Regions from separate parts of the Homo sapiens genome. Here region 2 is linked to region 1. Evidence: promoter capture Hi-C in 16 types of primary human blood cells and fetal thymus (Javierre and others, 2016). All regions are on one chromosome and are shown on one strand. Each heading gives the region's core, a stretch centred on a gene start or on the middle of the fragment in contact. The rest is flanking DNA. Distances are from core to core; before and after follow the strand shown.

Region 1 (2,583 bases), core at 42-2,541:
TAATTGAACCCGAGGAGGAGGGTCAGGTAAACCTGATTACAGCCGATGGAACAGAAGTATAGGTGACAACATGTTACTTGTGATTGTTGTCTAGAGGAGGGCAGTCTTGTGGGGCTGAGCCCTCAACCTGAGGCTATCTCCAGGTAGATAGTGTAAGAACTGAATAAGATTAGAGGACACTCAGCTACTGTCCACTGAAGAATCTGCCAGAGAGAACTGACTGCAGGCGGGAGGAATCCCTACACGCATTTTGGTGACCACAGGTCACCGAAGTGATTTGTGTTGAGAGTGCAGTAGGAAAAAACTGAGTTTGGTTTTTTGTACATCATAAGAGCTGCTCTCTGCATTTGAGTCTGAATATGCTCTCTCAGACCCACCTCACAACCTGTTCACTGAGTCTTAGGAACATCCAAGGAAGGAAGGGAACTGGAACAAGCTCTGACACTTTCAAACAGCTGGAATGCATGGTGTGCACGCAGTCAGCCTGAGGAGGTGTGGAGGATGAGCTAAGGGCTCAGAAACCTTTAGGGGAGCAGCTTTTAACTTCGGAGGAGTCAAAGACCCTTTGAAGAATTTGATGAAAGCTTTGGCTGGTCTCTCCAGAAAAAAAAATGCCCGCTTACATATACAGAATTTAGAGTACACTTTCATGGGGTTTCCCCACCCCCTGAAACCTATCAATGCAACTTCATTGGGATGAATGGATCTCAGATTGAGGATGCTTTTCTGCCTTTTCTATCCCTCCCCAAGCAAAGCACTGGTCTCAGCCTTCAACCATCCCCAGCATGGTGCATTCTCTCCCCGGGTATGTGAGCTCCTCTCCCCCTCACAAGTATCAGCTTGTATTCACAATATTCCCAAGTATTCACTGGAGGAGCCAGGCCATTCAAGCGTTCATCTTGAGGTGAAGTCTGACCCCCCCACCCCTTGTCCCATTGAGGAGGCTCTGACTCAGCCTCCTCTCCCCCTCCCTGAGGAGACACTTCCAGTTTTTCCTGCTCTTTTCTCTGTTCCTCCACCCACCTCTCCACCCCATTTCCCACTGGCCTTCAGGAGTTTTCCAAGATCCTTCCCTCTTCCGACACTTACCCCATCTTTTGGGGGATCCAGCAGCCAGCCCAGCTCTCCCTGTGCCTTGCTTGTGTCCATCAGAGTAACTGAAAGTGGGGAGAAAAGAAGTCTGTCACCTCTGGGGGAGGAGGTGCCCCTGCAGCCCACATTAATCATTCTGGGGCCTCAGCCCCAGGCTGCAACATCCTGTTCCTAAAAGCTGTGACTTCCTGAGGCTTAGGGGAGAAAAAGGGCTCAGGACTGAGGAGTGAAGAGCTCCAGGGATTTCACTCTTCTTTGTGTGTGTGAAGGAAGGCAGGTAGAGTGGGACAAGGGTTGGGGCGCTGGGTCTTTGACCAAAGTCAATGCAAGAAGAGCAGCCCCACGAGACGCTCAGTTACCCAGGCTGCTGCGTCCTGGGACACCCATCAGCTGCAGGATTGGAACGCGTGGAGGGCAGGAGGAGCTCACCTCTGCTAGCCAGGAGTGGGCAGGGTGGACCGGGGACCTCAGAAGGGGTTTCCTGGGTAGGGAGGCTCACCTCCACTGTCCGAAGCCTGCTTTGGCCTGACCTGGCCAGTGATCAGAGCCGTGAAGTGGGGATAAGAGGCACAGCTACCTGCCTGGGAAGTGGGGGGGAGTAAGGCCGGAGAGGGTGTTCCAACTTTCACATGGAATATTCGACTCGGACAACTGGGAACCCCTGTGGCGTCAGTCCTAACCCTTCTCCCGGAGGCAGCTCCCTCTGTCCCTGGCCTAGGTTGGCAGGAGGCGACTTCCCACCTTCAACTTCCAAGGGCTCAGATCTCTGGGGTGGGCACCTGAAGCTGGGACTGTCTGGGAATGCAGGCAGGGGTGCGGGTGCAGGTGCTACTTCCTGGCAAGGGTCCGGAATTCCCTCCCCACTCCCAGGAGCAGATTGCTGGCCTGCGGGAGTGGGGGTGACTGACCCGGGAGAGCAGCCGCTTGGGGTTAAAGACCAAAGATGGGCCTGGCCAGTCGATAGCCTGGCGGTCGGGCACAGCGAGAGAGCTGGCGAGGGTCTCGGGGAACATGGCCCCTAGGAATGCCGGCTTCTGCAGGGGGGTGCTGGCCGGGCCCCGGGAAGGGGCGGGGCGCGGGGGTTGGGGGCGCGGGGGCGGGGGTCGGTACCTTCCTTGGCGCGCGCCCCCGGGGGCAGCGGGGCGCAGAGCAGCAGCACCAGCCCTAGCCCCAGGGGCCAGCGCCGCTCCATAGCTCCGGGCCGGGACCTGGGACAGTGGCCCGGATGGCAGCGCCAGGTTGCAAGGGACTAGGAGAGCCGGGCGGGCCGGGCGGGGGCGGGGGGCGGGGCCAGCGCCGGGGGCGGAGTCCCGGCCTCACCTGGTTCACCTCCTTAAAGGGACAGTAGGGCAGGAAAGAAACTTGCTAGACTGGTAATCAAATTCAAGAACCGGAGGCGTCTTGACCCGAATGAGACTGCGGGCGCCGCCTAGTAGGTGGGATTAAGAATTGACGAACCTTTTCCCAATTCTAATCCTAAACTCAACCCAA
Region 2 (2,583 bases), core at 52-2,551, 590 kb before region 1:
TGTGGGAAAGATAAAGTGCCATTTACAGAGGAGCACCCCAGCCTGGCTTGCCTTCCCCAGACAGAGGGGCAGCTCAAGCTCTTGCATGACACAGGCACCTGGAATCCATCATGGGGAGTAGACTGGGGGAGCCAAGGATGCAAAGCATCCCTGGGCCAGGGAAGACCAACAGAACGAACTCCTTCTCAGGAGATAGAGAGAACTAAGAATCATCAGATCAGCCCCTAAGGCTAAATTCCCATATCTGTTCCAGACAATCAGGAATAGACTCAAGAGTGTCAAACCAACAGCTCAGACTCTGCATTCACGGGATTGGGGTGAGGGTGAGGATGAGAAAAGAGGCTTGCCAGAGAGGAGGGCACCCACCAAAGAAAGTGCCCAGGAGAAGGGCAAGGAGAGAGCAGAGCATCATCCAAGCCAGCCTTTCCTTCAGCTAGTCTGGGGGACAGACGCCTCCTCTTCTGGGCCAGTGATGTGGTCAGGCTGCTCCCTCTGGGAGATCTGCTGCCAGAGCAGAGGAATCCTACCCCATGAGCTGGGGAGGAAATGAGGCTAGTCTTCTTTTAAGAGTGTGGTGAATCACCCCCAGCCTCCCTGGGAACCAGCTATACTCTGCACTTGTTATCTTCTTTGCATTCCTGCTGACATCCTGGTATGTAAATATATTTAATGACTCATTATTTACCTGTAAACTAAAGGTAACTCTCCAGCTCCCCCGGGAGACATCAGAAGCCTGGGAAAGCTTCAGAGAAACTGTGATACTGATAGAAGGATGAAAAAAGATTTTAGTTTATCTGAAATTGGAAACTAGAGCTAGACATGTTACCTGGGAGATGAAAGGATAGGGCTCAAGAGATTCAGGTATTTTGGGGTAATCAAAGCAGAAATGCTCAGTTCTGAGGGCAGGAAGCTTCTATGACAGCCAAAGGGATCGCCTGCATAATCTTCATCCCTGGCAGACAGATTTTGAGACCTGGACAGGCATAATTAACTCCTGAACTGATCAAAGTTGGAATCTGCTCCATGTGTCTCTAATGGGCCAACTAGATCTAATTTATCCTCTAAATGCAATATGAGTAATAGGAAACATCACAGAGACTTGGAATCATATGGATTTGGGTTCATTTCACAGCTCTGCTTCTTGCTGGCTTGGGAACTCTCAAGCAAACCCTGATTCTCAATTTTCTTATCTATAAAGTGAAAATAATGATGACAATATCTAAAAATTGTTGAAAGATGCATTTTGCCTGGTGCACTGCAGGCAGGCACTCTTACATATGTTGGCTTTTTTTTTTTTTTTTTTTTTTTTTTTTTTTTGACTCCCTATGTCTGCAGCAAAGATTGGGAGATTTACAATGGCATGGGGTGGAAGGTAGGGGCTGAAGGGATCACGAGCCACAAAAAACACAGTCAAGCCACGAATTCATAATAGTAAGGATTCATAATAGCTAAGCATGGGACTCTGCTAGGTAGCTGCTAAAATGTCATTCTGCTGAAATGGGACAAAAGACCTTCAGATGCCTGGAGGACACCAGCACACCCTTGGAAACTCCTCTTCCCTCTGTCTTTGCCATGCTCTGTATTCTGAAGGATTCATATTCAGAACAATTACTTAGTTTGGGTTGGATGTGGTGGAGCGGTTTGAGATGAAAACCCAGGAAAGAAAGCCGTAAAAGTGGCTGAACAGGGAGAATAAGCTTTAAGCAAATAAAGCATTTGTAACACTTTCCCATTTCATCAGGGCCTAGTGATGTCATATGTTTGTTGTTGTTGCTGATGCTACAGTAACACAATTCCAAGTTAATGTTGGGGTTCTTGCTTCTGACAGTTTTGGCTGTAGCACATTTTTTTGTTTGCATTTGAATACACCATATGTATAGGGGAATGTTTTGTTTTTTATCATTTCAAAATGGAATTAATCCTCTTATAACATTTATTTAAATGATAAATCAAGTGGTAAATATAGTTTGCTTGCAGTGAACATTTGGAACATATGATGAAAAATAGCTATAGCCAACGCAAGAGCAGTTTTCATTGAACAGTTGTTCAATCTCAGTTTTTAATAAATCTGATAATATAATATCTGTGCATGTTAGGATTGCAGAGAGTGAAGCCAAAATAAATATGTGCACACATAGCCTATTCCTCCCTTTCTTTCCATTTCTGTTCTCTTTCCTCTTTGCTTTTGAAATTTTTATTTAGTCCTGAGTGGGGATGGGGTGGAGAGAAAGTGGACAGTGGGTGGTGGGAGATACAGGGAGAAAGAATGAGAATTGCTCTTGTTCTCAAGGGTACCGCATCACGTTTTCCTCTGGCTGGCAGTCTTTAACACCAGCGTATCCTATGAGACCTGACTTCACTCATCAGCTGCATCAGCTCAGTGTCATTACCACATGTAGACAGCAATGTAATCCTCCTTCTTAGAGATGCTGCAGCAGATTGGAGGGTGAAGAGATGTATCAGTCAGATCAGAGTAACCAGCTGGCTCCTGGCTCCTGATCATTGTCACAGCTCAGTAGCTGGAAGCTCCTTCCATATGGCTGATGCCTTTAAAAAAATCTCCTCAATCTCCATCCCCATCTG

What was found. Contacts are between HindIII fragments. The CHiCAGO score rates a contact against its expected background, and 5 or more counts as called.
Region 2: a contact is called between a fragment that was not itself captured here and the fragment with the promoter of EPHA1-AS1 in region 1, in 1 of 17 cell types (fetal thymus). The highest score is 5.1, in fetal thymus.

What each region holds. Positions count from the first base shown.
Region 1 is chr7:143,406,522-143,409,104 of GRCh38, forward strand. EPHA1-AS1 (EPHA1 antisense RNA 1) reads left to right here and starts at 1,292. Exons shown (of 5, transcript NR_033897.1): 1 at 1,292-1,365. It overlaps EPHA1 (EPH receptor A1), which reads right to left and starts at 2,335. Exons shown (of 18, transcript NM_005232.5): 1 at 2,203-2,335; 2 at 1,090-1,157. The coding sequence starts at 2,284. RefSeq lists an enhancer at 2,407-2,583. The HindIII fragment of the contact is 7,900 bases long and covers 583-2,583 here.
Region 2 is chr7:142,812,879-142,815,461 of GRCh38, forward strand. LOC105375541 (a long non-coding RNA gene) reads left to right here and starts at 1,319. Exons shown (of 2, transcript XR_001745392.2): 1 at 1,319-2,583. It also overlaps TRB and TRBV30. The HindIII fragment of the contact is 787 bases long and covers 909-1,695 here.